4 separate regions of the Homo sapiens genome follow, and regions 2, 3 and 4 are each linked to region 1. Evidence: promoter capture Hi-C in human tissues and cell types (Jung and others, 2019). All regions are on one chromosome and are shown on one strand. Each heading gives the region's core, a stretch centred on a gene start or on the middle of the fragment in contact. The rest is flanking DNA. Distances are from core to core; before and after follow the strand shown. Region 1 holds the start of ZNF433 (zinc finger protein 433). Region 2 overlaps ZNF709 (zinc finger protein 709). Region 3 holds the start of ZNF799 (zinc finger protein 799). Region 4 overlaps ZNF563 (zinc finger protein 563).

Region 1 (2,884 bases), core at 208-2,707:
CCTAAGATTGGTGTTTGAGGTATTTTTGAGACCCTTCATTCTGATAAATTTGCTGGCATCACACAGACCAATAAACTGGCTCACCTGCTCCAGTGGCCCCTAGCCAAGAACTGACTCAGTGCAAGAAGACAGCTGAGACTTCCTGTGATATCCTTTTCGCGACCAATCAGCATTCCCCATTTTCCAGCCTTCTGCTCACCAAATTATCTTTAAAACCCTAGCCTCGGCCGGGTGCGGGGGCTCAGGCCTGTAATCCCAGCACTTTGGGAGGCCGAGGCGGGTGGATCATGAGGTCAGGAGTTTGAGACCAGCCTGACCAACATGGTAAACCCCGTCTCTACTAAAAATACAAAAATTAGCCGGGCATGGTGGCGCATGCCTGTAATCCCAGCTACTCAGGAGGTTGAGGCAGGAGAATCGCTTGAACCCGGGAGGCGGAGGTTGCACTGAGCCGAGATTGCGCCACTGCACTCCAGCATGGGCGACAGAGAGATTCCGTCTCAAAAAAAAACCAAAAAAACAAAACCTAGCCTCCCATTTTTTAGGGAGACAGAATTGAATAAAAATAAAACTCTTCTCTTTCATTTAGCCGGCTCTATGTATATTAAACTCCACTGCAATTCCCTGTCTTTTTTTTTTTTTTTTTTTTCGGAGACAGGGTCTCACTCTGACATCCAGGCTGGTAAAATCACAGCTCACTGTGGCCTCGACCTCTCTGGGCTCAGGCGATCCTCTCATTTCAGCCTTCCGAGTAGCTGGGACTGCAAACATGTACCACCACGCCCGACTAATTTTTGTATTTTTTGTAGAGGCGGGGTTTTGCTATGTTACCCAGGCTGGGCTTAAGTTCCTAGGCTCAAGCAATCTGCCTGCCTTGGCTTCCCAAAGTGGTGGGGTTACAGGCATGAGCTACCCCCACCCCCCCAGCCCACCGCCGGACGAGCTAAAGTTTCTATTCAACAGTACTCTATGGCAGGGGTCCCCAACCCCCGGTCCATGGCCTGTAAGGAACCAGTCCGCACAGCAGGAGGTGAGCGGCTGGCGGGCGAGCCAGCGGGCATTATCGCCAGAGATATGCTTCCTGTCAGATCAGCAGAGGCATTAGTCTGTCATAGGAGCCCGAACCCTATTGTGAGCTGCACATGCGAGGGATCTAGGTTGGGTTCGCCTTATGAGGATAAAATGCCTGATCTGAGGTGGAAGTTTCATTCCGAAACTATCTGCCCCCGTAGGAGAACTGTCTTCCACGAAACCGGTTCTGGTGCTAAAAAGGTTACAGACCTCTGGCTTAAAGAATCTATCGCTGGATCCGGTCAAACCCGTTTTCAGAGCCCCGTTACCAAGGGCTTCTATTGTCACTCACGGCTGAGGGGGCGGGGCCCGGCGCTTCGTCCAATCAGGGGCGCTGGGCGGGGCCTGCCGAGTGTCCATCGGGGAGGGCGAAGGCCCTGCTCTCCTCGGTTCCCGGCTCCAGGCGGCGAGCTGAGGTTGGGAGCCTGGCTTTCCCCTCCGAGAGGGTTCAGGTGCCTCTGCCATAGCTTCTGTCGCCTGTGCTGTGACCCGCACTGGTCGTGGGAGTCACCTGAAAGGCAAGAAATGGTGAGCGTGCGGGCCAGGGGTCCCGAGGCGGGGGAGGAGCTGGTTGGAACCGGCCGGAACCGGCTGTGGTGGGACCCGGGCCTCCCCGCGGCGACTCCGGGGTCTGGGACCCGATTTCCCGTGGGACAGCTCGGCCCTTGGTCCCCTTGGCCCCACAGTGGGGCTGGGCCGGCCGCCGGGACCCGGGCGTCTCGTCCTGTCCCTGCGCGGTGACTGTCACCCAGTTCCCAGAGCCCTCTCTGGGCAGCTCCGCGCCCGCTGCCCCGCGTCTCCCCACATTGTGCGGGGACTACGCGAGGGTCATGGGGGGATCCCGCCTCGGGTGTGGGGGTTTGTGTAGGAGGAGGGTGGGCTGTGGGGTCCCCAGTAGCGCCTTTCTCCTCTTAAAAATTAAACTGAGACACGTTAACAATTATAGTTTTGCTTCTCAGAATAGGTTTTAAAAAATATATTAATAATTAGAGTTCCTTTGAGATTCCTGAATGATAAACACCCAGTCCTGGCTTGTAATTTGTTAACGGAAAATGCCAAGCTGTGTAAAATAACTTAAAGAAGTTTATTCAGAGCCGAATAGGAGAGGCCTCAGCTGAGGAAAACACAACCCCAGGAGGCCTGAAGTAAGTGGTCCCGAGGCGGCTCAAGACTGTTTTTATTCATTTCAGGGAGACAGGAATTGCAGGGAGAATCATGCATCAATGCCTGGAAAGGTGTAAGTTCCTTTGGCAGAAAGGGCGGGACCTGTGGAAGGGGGGTTAGAAGGTGCAGGTGGTTGAGGGATTCTGAAGGTGGCCGTTGGTGGAGAGTGTGAAGCTTTGTCTAAAACTTCGAGGCGGTAGGAAGGATTGCTTAAGTGAAGAGGGTCTGGTATCTGTCATATGATTTCATCCCACCCAAAACAAAAGACCTGTTTCTTTAGATTTTGTGAATTCTAAGATTTGACTTACCTCTTGCCTTGCATGGCCTTAGGTCTTGTTTGTAATTTGGTTTCTTATTGTCACAGAGAGTCTGTGTTTCCAGTTGGCTGATGTCTGTTTTAACATGAAGGTGGGTCAGTGGCTATGTGGAAACTCCTAAAGGAAGCGGGTATAATGAGGCCTGTCCAGGTATAGTGAAGCCTGTCTGATGGTTAATCTGTAGTCAAGTGTGGGAGGGTTCCAGCTGGCTCTTTCCAGTGTCAGGTGACTCAATTCCAGAGTCACATTACTTTAAACTTCAAGATAATTTAGAGTTCCAACAGCTTCAATTTTTGAATTACTTATTTTCACAGACCATACAGTGGAAAATT
Region 2 (2,884 bases), core at 213-2,712, 420 kb before region 1:
TGCAAGGATATATTAAAATATTCCATTGCAATTATAGATTTTCAGATTAAGTTTTTTTATTATTATACTTTAATTTCTAGGGTACATGTGCACAACGTGCAGGTTTATTACATAGGTATACACGTGCCATGTTGGTGTGCTGGACCCATTAACTCGTCTTTTACATTAGGTATATCTCCTAATGCTATCCCTCCCCCCTCCCCCCACCCCATAACAGGCCCGTGTGTGATGTTCCCCTTCCTGTGTCCAAGTGTTCTCATTGTTCAATTCCCACCTGTGAGTGAGAACATGTGGTGTTTGGTTTTTTGTCCTTGTGATACTTTGCTGAGAATGGTGGTTTCCAGCTTCATCCATGTCCCTACAAAGGACATGAACTCATCCTTTTTTATGGCCGCATAGTATTCCATGGTGTATATGTGCCACATTTTCTTAATCCAGTGATTTTCAGATTAAGTTTTTAAGTTTATTGAGTTAATCCTCATATATTCTGAGTCAATATTATGTGCATACAAGATCAAGTATTTTCCTTAGGAATTTTTTATTTTTTATTCTTAATATAGTTATGATTTTTTCCCAGAAAATTTCTCATGCATTCATAATACCAAAAACTTAAATCATGGTTGTTTCAGTGCCTTTTTTTCAAAGATCACCAGGATCACACCTGTAGTCAAGAGAAGAGTGTTAAGAATTGTAGGAATAAGAATGATCATAAACCATAAATGACTCTGGGGAGTATCAGTAAGAGGGTGCTCGGCTGGGCGCAGTGGCTCATGCCTGTAATCCCAGTACTTTGGGAGGCCAAGGTGGGCAGATCACAAGGTCAGGAGTTCGAGACCAGCCTGGCCAACATGGTGAAACCCCATCTCTACTAAAAAATATATAAAAAATAGCCGGGCATGGTGGCGTGCACCTGTAATCCCAGCTACTCAAGAGGCTGAGGCAGGAGAATTGCTTGAACCCCAGGAGGTGGAGGTTGCAGTGAGCCGAGATCACGCCACTGTGCTCCAGCCTGGGCGACAGAGCAAGACTCCTTCTCAAAACAACTTCTTTTTGGATTTGGATTTGTTGGGTGACTTGATTGCTAATCACCAAACTGAGACACTCCTGTGTGTGTTGCCTGCTGTGAGGTGAACTTAATTGTGTCACTGGTAATCATAATTCTTATCTAGAGGCAGGAAGAATGAAGTGGAGCTAAACCTAATTCCTAAGAAACCACTCACTTGGATTAGTGAGTAGAGGGCAATTTTGGTCATTTTAATGGCTTCAACTCTGTTCTCTTTTACCATTTTTAGAGACATGGTTATTGTTTTTGTCTTGATCCATCATGATTGCTGAGTAGCTTTGTCTGATGAAGGAAATGTGACATTTTTCTCTTCAACAGGATAAGACTTGGCCTTATCTGAGTGTGAGGTCAGATCCTAGTCCTGTGGAACTGCTCTTAACCTTTCTTATTATCTAAACATGGAAATATTTCTTATGGTGTATTGGACAATGTTTTCCACAAAATATCTCAGTCAAAATATGTAAGTTCACTGAGTCTTTAGCAAACTATATACTTTTTTTTCTCTTTTGTGCACTAGCAGAGTCCTGTAAGTGTAGATAAGTTTTCAGAGACCACAAACCTAGCAAGGTGCAAAGACAGAATCACTGTTCAAATCAAGCCATCTTGCTCTTGATGCTGATTTTTTTAACCTTTCTCATAGGCCTGGCACTGTAGTATCAAAGCATACACAATTCAGCACAAATAATCAAGACATTGTAGGCTATGGATATAGAAACATGAAACAAGTTCTTGCCTTCCTGTTGCTTATAGATTTGGGAAAAGAGAGATGGTTAATAAAAGGTGAGGATTTGGTTTTTAGAAAGCAATTAAGATCTTTGAAGGAAATGAAATAACAACCAACCTGTGAGATTAATAGGGAAGCTATGGTTGTGTTGGATACCTTAGCTTTGGAGGGTAGGGACCTCCAATATTGTCATTGATCATTTATTTCCATTATCTAACATATCTTTTTTTTTTTTTTTTGAGACAGGGTCTTTCTCTGTCATCAGGCTGGAGTGTGATCTTGGCTCACTGCAACCTCCGCCTCCTGGGTTCAAGCCATTCTCCTGCCTCAGCCTCCGGAGTAGCTGGGATTACAGGCGCCCACCATCACGCCCAGCTAATTTTTTTTTTTTTGTATTTTTAGTAGAGACGAGGTTTCACCATGTTGGCCAGGATGGTCTTGATCTTCTGACCTCATGATCCACCCGCCTCGGCCTCCCAAAGTGCTGGGATTACAGGCGTGAACCACCGCGCCTGGCCTTTTTTTTTGTTTAGACGGAGTCTCACTCTGTTGCCAGGCTGGAGTGCAGTGGCGTGATTTTGGCTCACTGCAACCCCCTCCTCCCAGGTTCAAGTGATTCTGCTGCCTCAGCCTCCTGAGTAGGCTACATGTGTGTGCCACCACGCCCAGCTAATTTTTGTATTTTTAGTAGAGACGGGGTTTCACCATGTTGGCCAGGATGGTCTCAATCTCTTGACCTCGTGATCCACCTGCCTCAGCCTTCCAGAGTGCTGGGATTACAGGCATGAGCCACTGAGCCTGGCCTATCTAACATATCTTATTAAAACACTGAGGAACTGCTCAGGTTTGATGTATGCTGGGGAACAATACAGTCCTACATCCCTGGGATGAACAGTAATGATTCCCCATAAACAAAGGTGTAGATATGGTTCATCTTTATTTTTATAATGGATAAAATTTTTGAGACATGTAAAGCATGATCATGAATTTGGACATGAGTATTTAGGATTTGAGATTTCCTATTGATTTGGGCCACAGGTGTTGATGATGTTTACATTTCTGTTTAATGTCATTTTAAAGATTCTTAAGTTGCCTTG
Region 3 (2,884 bases), core at 98-2,597, 370 kb before region 1:
CTGGGTATAGAAGCAGCTACCTTAACATAATAAAAGCCATATATGGCAGACCCACAGCTAGCATGATAATGAATGAGGAAAAACTGAAAGCCTTTCCTGTAAGATCTGGAACACAATAAGAATGCCCACTTTTACCACTGTTGTTCAGCACAGTACTCGAAGTCCCAGCTAGAGCAATAAGTCCAAAAAAAAAAAAAAAAAGAAATAAAGGGCATCTATATTGGGAAGGAAAGGAAGAAGTCAAATTATCCTGGTTTGCATATAATATGATCTTATATCTGGAAATACCTAAAGACTCCACCAAAAAAGTATTAGAACTGAGAAATAAATTCAGTAAAGTTGCAGGATACAATATTAACATACAAAAATCAGTAACATTTTTATATGCCAACAGTGAACAATCTGAAGCTACTTGAGAGGCTGAGGTGGGAGGATTGCTTGAGCTTGGGAGGTAGAGGTTGCAGTGAGCCATGATGGCCCCACTGCACTCCAGCCTAGGCAACAGAGCAAGACCCCATCTCAAACAACCAAAAACGTGTAGAAGGATGGTTACCACAGGCTGGGAAAAGTAGTAGCGAGGAGTAGTTATGGGGGAAGTGGGGATGGTTAATAGGTATAAAAAATAGTTACAAAGAATGAATAAGACCTAGTATTTGCTAGCACAACAGAGTGACTATAGTAAAAAATAATTTAATTGTACATTGAAATATTTTGAAAAATTTCATTGAAAAAGAGTATAATTGGAGCCAGGCGCGATGGCTCACGTCTCTAATCCCAGAACTTTGGGAGGCCAAGGTGGGCGGATCACGAGGTCAGGAGTTCGAGACCAGCCTGGCCAACATGGTGAAACCCGGCCTCTACTAAAACATACAAAAATTAGCCGGGTGTGGTGGCGCGCACCTGTAATCCCAGCTACTCGGGAGGCTGAGGCAGAATTGTTTGAACCCACCTAGGAGGCGGAGGTCGCAGTGAGCCTCGCACCATTGCACTCTAGCCTGAGCCACGGAGCAAGACTCCCTCTCTCTCTCTCTCTCTCTCTCTCTCTCTCGGAAAAAAAAAAAAAAAAAAAAAAAAAAGTATAATTGTTTTGTCAGTCAGTGTACAGGAGGAAGAAGCAGGAGGTCCTATTGAGTACAGGCAGGAAATTCCGCTTAAGTGCAAATATCCCTCGGGAGGATTCAGATCAAAGAGCAGGGAGGAAGCCCGCCCTGCCAAGGGCTGTGTCAGGAACTTGCTCATCTGGCTCCACTCAGCTGTGCAAGATCGCTTCTTCTGTCAATCAGTCCACGAGGGGCGGCACCTGACGCCGTATCCAGTAAGGGCCGTGGGGCGGGTTCGTGGGAACTGTCAATCAGGCGCGCTTCCCAGAGGAGTGTGTGGTTGAAAAAGCCCGCGGCGTCTTCTCCACCCACCTGCGCTGGGCGCTCGGTGCTCGGCTCTGTAGCTAAGAGACGACCTGGAAGTTCCGTGGCAGCCTGTGTCCCGCGGGAACCCGCATTGGCAGCGGGAGCCGTCCGGAGGACCTGGGACACCGCGGAAGTCGGGAAATGGTGCGTGTGCTGGGCCGGCGTCCCGAGGCGGGGGAGGGGCTGGGTGGAACCTGCAGTAATCGGCTGTGGCTGGACCCGGGCCTCCCCAAGGGCTACTCCGGGATCTACGGACCCGGGTTCCCCTGGCGTAGGTCGGCCCTCGGCCGCAGGGTGGGGCTGGGCATGCAGCCGGGACCCCGGGCGTCCTGTCCCGTTCCTGCGCGGCGACTGCGGCCCCGGCGCCCTCTCTGGGCAGCTCCGCGCCCGCAGCCTCGCGTCTCCCGAGATTGTGCGGCTGTAAGCAACACAGGTTCGCGGCCCGACTCACTGCACCGAGACGCTGAGGGCTGCAGCAGAAACAGTTTAATAGCCAGAGAGGGGAGGACACCCCAGATCCGCCTCCCTGAGGGATTTGGGGTCTGGACGGGGGCGGCTGGGTGTAGGGTCGTTGGTTGGTGGGGAAGTGAGGGGTGAATCCTGGGACAGGAGGTGAAGAAACCGCATTCTGCTGAATGGGCTCCCTCGTTGGGACTTCAACCTGATTGGCGCCAGCCTTTGCTGGGATTCAGGATCTGAGAACTCCGGCGACTCTTGAGCAGTTCTCAGAGATCTTATCCCCAGGCACAATGGGGAAGCCGGCGGTCAGCGTCTGCTGTGACCTGACTCTCAGGGAGGCGGCCCCTTGAGGCAGCGGGGCTGAGGGCACCTGGTTAATATCTAACTGCAATCTCGCCTCCAGCCTGGCTCGCAGTTCCTGTGAACCCGGTGAGGAGGCTGCACGGTGACGACGAGTCACCAGGTGGAATCCAGACTCGTGTGTGGGGTTTGTGTGTGGGAGGAGCTGTGGTCTCCGTGGTCCTCAGTCCCTTCTTTCTTTCCAAGGGCGACCGTTTCCCCTCTGAGTCTTCCAAAGATGTGGTTAGCAGGGTCTCAAATCCACCACTGTGTTCTCTCATCCTGACTCCTCCTAGGGCTGGCAGCAAATCTCTTGGTTTCCAGAGACTTCCCCAGGCTAACCTTCTGTCCTTAATTCACAGCAACGGTATGAACTGTTTGGCCCCCAGGCGATATTTCACTAGTTTGTCATCTTGTTTTCAGCTAGCAATGTATGGCTTTTTCTTGAAAGAATTATTTTGGGTTCCTGAACACGGTGGGTCATTCCTGTAATTCCAGCACCTTGGGAGGCTAAGGCAGAGGTATTGCTTAATCTTAGTAGTTCCAGACCAGCCTGGGCAACATGGCAAGACCTTGTCTCTAGTATAAATGATAATAATAAAATTAGCTGGGCTTGGTAGCTGGCACCTGTAGTCGCAGCTACTCCTGAGGCTGAGGTGGGATGATGGCTGGAGCCCAGG
Region 4 (2,884 bases), core at 144-2,643, 280 kb before region 1:
GCCACTGCACTCCAGCCTGGGCAGCAAGAGCAAAACAACCTCTGTCACACACACAAAAAAAAAAAAAAAGGAAAGAAAGAAAAGACATATTTGGGTTAGACACAGTTGCTCACCTCTGTAATCCTAGCACCTTAGGAGCCCAAGACAGGTGGATCACTTGAGCCCAGGAGTTAGAGGCCAGCCTGGGTAATGTGGCAAAACCCTGTCTCTACAGAAGATACACAAATTAGCCAGGTGTGGTGACATGTACCTGTAGTCCCAGCTACTAGGGAAGCTGAGGTGGGAGGATCGCTTGAGCCTGGGAGGTTGAGGTTGCGGTGAGTCAAAATCACATCACTGCATTCTAGCATGGGCAACAGAATGAGACCCTGTCTCAAAAAAATAATAACAATAAAAAATATTTGCATGTAACCTACCCACATCCTCCTGTATACTCTAAATCATCTGTAGATTAGTTAAAATACATCATGCATCATAGAAGCTATGTAAATAGTTGTTATTATATTGTTTAGTGAATCATGATATGAGAAAGACCCTACACATATTCAGTACAGACCCACCCACATAATACATGTCACCTAGAGCATTATAAATCTTTTCTTTCAACACTCATAGATTGCTTTTGTTTAATGACCTGAAAATGTGTTAACATTCACCCAACAAAAGTGTAATGATGATTATTGCAATATCGTGCCTAATGTTGTGATGTGTTGAGTCAGCTAGATGTGTGACACCACAGATAAGCAGTGAGACCTCAGGCTAACTCGAATCTTGACAGGATGTCAACATGATCAACTATATTGGAAGAAACAGATTCTGACTGCAGATACTGAATTTTTGGAGCAGTCTAAATAATACTAATGTCAGAATCTGTTCAATTTGAGGACTGAAGATCTTTAAGCATTGAAGGCTGTCTTCATATTTGCAGATATTTAATTAGAAACATTGTAGGAAGCTAGTTTTTTTTTTTTTAAACTTTGCAACGTTTGTGAGCATGTAATCTCTGGGGTGACATGGAGGCTTTGTTCCATGGAAGAATCTTAATTGAGGATGATAATCTTTAACACTTGCGCCTTGTAGAAGCTGTAGGTGCCCTAAAACTGCTTCCAATTTTTCTTTTTTTTTCTTTTTCTTTTCTTTTTTTTTTTTTTTAAGACAAGATCTCACTCTGTCACCCTACAGTGCATGGCTCACTGCAGCCTCAACTTCCTGGGCTCAAGTGATCTTCCCACCTCAGCCTCCCAAGTAGCTGGGATTATAGGCACACATCACGATGCCTGGCTACTTTTTGTGTTTTTTGTGGAGACAAGGTTTCACCATGTTTCCCAGGCTGGTCTTGAACTCCTGGAATCAAGAGATCTGCCTGCCTTGGCCTCCCAAATTACTAGGATTACAGGGTGAGCCACCACACCCAGCCTTCAGATTTTTCAAGTATCAAAATCTATAGCACTGCTTCTTTTTTTTTTTTTCAGACAGAGTCTCACTCTGTCGCTGAGGCTGAAGTGCAGTGGTGCAATCTCAGCTCACTGCAGCCTCCACCTCCCAGGTTCAAGTGATCCTCCTGCATCAGCCACCTGAGGAGCTGGGATTACAATCTCAGCTCACTGCAACCTCCACCTCCCAAGTTCAAGTGATCCTCCTGCCTCAGCCACCCAAGTAGCTGGGAATACAGGCATGCACCACCATGCCCAGCTAATTTTTGTATTTTTAGTAGAGACAGGGTTTCGCCATGTTTGCCAAGCTGGTTTTGAACTCCCTGTGACTTCAAGTGATCTGCCTGCCTTGGCCTCTCAGAATGCTGGGATTACAGGCATGAGCCACCACTTATGGCACTGCCTCTTTATTTATTTATTGAGACTGAGTCTCACTCTGTCACCCAGGCTGGAGTGCAGTGGCACGATCTCGGCTCACTGCAAACACTGCCTCCTGGGTTCAAGCGATTCTCATGCCTCAGCCTCCCAAGTAGCTGGGATTACAGGTGCCCGCCACCACACCCAGCTAATTTTTGTATTTTTAGTAGAGACGGGGTTTCACCATGTTGGCCAGGCTGGTCTTAAACTCGTGACCTCAGGTGATTCACCCGCTTCGGCCTCCCAAACTGTTGGGATTACAGGCGTGAGCCACCACGCCTGGCGGCACTGCCTCTTCTAAATCTACATCATCATCATCATCATCTATAGAGGATTTCAGCATATCTTCTAGTTCCTTGTTAGTAAAGGTTTCTTCTTTGCTCTTCTGTGTGTTCCTCAACATTGTCTTCACTTGTGTCAGAGATAGCCTTCCCCACCAACTTTCCTTACATTTAAGATATTTCTGACTATCATATCGATAGTGCAGAAGCGCCTGAAATCATTGACTTCCTCACTCCATAATGGCTTCCAACACACTTTGGCTGTCTTGAGCTGTAGGGCATTTACAGCCTCCGCAATAAACACAATCGTTTCTGCAGTTGGGAAGCTCTTCCATAAATCCTGTATGACATGGTGAGGGTTATTATCAAGACAGCATAAATCCTTCCAAAAGTCCAGTGGGTGTAAGACACCTTGAGGCACTTGATGATGCTTTGATCAAGTAGTTGTAGCAGTGATGTAGTTTTAGGAGGCAGGAACATCACTTCCCCATTTTTATCGGCATAACAGAGAGAAGAGAGATGCCAGGAGCGTTGTCAGTTATGAGGAGGGCCTTGAGTGGCAGCCCCTTCTTTTCAAGGTATTCATTCACATCAGGAATGAAGCAGTGGTAGAACCAAGTCCTCGTGTGTTTTTGTCAGGACACGGGCAGGCAAGTTTCGCTTTTGTTTTCAAGGACCCACGGATTGTTTACTTAGTAGAGGAGGCTTTGTTTGATCTTATGACCTGCTGCATTGCCACGTAGCACCAGAGTA

The links. The method cuts DNA at HindIII sites, captures the fragments that hold promoters and counts their contacts. A contact is called where the count stands out against the background at its distance.
Region 2: a fragment that was not itself captured here is called in contact with the fragment with the promoter of ZNF433 in region 1 in 1 of the 25 tissues and cell types used here (lymphoblastoid cells).
Region 3: a contact is called between the fragment with the promoter of ZNF799 here and the fragment with the promoter of ZNF433 in region 1, in 2 of the 25 tissues and cell types used here (bladder and small bowel).
Region 4: a contact is called between a fragment that was not itself captured here and the fragment with the promoter of ZNF433 in region 1, in 5 of the 25 tissues and cell types used here (H1 embryonic stem cells, IMR-90 fibroblasts, aorta and 2 more).

The regions. Positions count from the first base shown.
Region 1 is chr19:12,034,252-12,037,135 of GRCh38, reverse strand. It overlaps ZNF433 (zinc finger protein 433), which reads left to right and starts at 1,457. Exons shown (of 4, transcript NM_001308348.2): 1 at 1,457-1,599. The coding sequence starts at 1,597. It overlaps ZNF433-AS1 (ZNF433 and ZNF878 antisense RNA 1), which reads right to left. Exons shown (of 3, transcript NR_134929.1): 2 at 1,364-1,582. RefSeq lists silencers at 1,343-1,502, 1,743-1,792, 1,803-1,922. The HindIII fragment of the contact is 13,566 bases long and covers 1-2,884 here.
Region 2 is chr19:12,458,336-12,461,219 of GRCh38, reverse strand. ZNF709 (zinc finger protein 709) reads left to right here. Exons shown (of 4, transcript NM_152601.4): 4 at 1-36. Among named protein-coding and RNA genes, the nearest start is that of ZNF443, 19 kb to the right of the region's middle. The HindIII fragment of the contact is 6,925 bases long and covers 1-2,884 here.
Region 3 is chr19:12,399,734-12,402,617 of GRCh38, reverse strand. ZNF799 (zinc finger protein 799) reads left to right here and starts at 1,347. Exons shown (of 4, transcript NM_001080821.3): 1 at 1,347-1,550. The coding sequence starts at 1,548. RefSeq lists enhancers at 1,193-1,242, 1,963-2,052 and a silencer at 1,573-1,732. The HindIII fragment of the contact is 18,323 bases long and covers 1-2,884 here.
Region 4 is chr19:12,314,662-12,317,545 of GRCh38, reverse strand. It overlaps ZNF563 (zinc finger protein 563), which reads left to right. Exons shown (of 4, transcript NM_145276.3): 4 at 1-69. Among named protein-coding and RNA genes, the nearest start is that of ZNF563, 18 kb to the left of the region's middle. The HindIII fragment of the contact is 6,161 bases long and covers 1-2,884 here.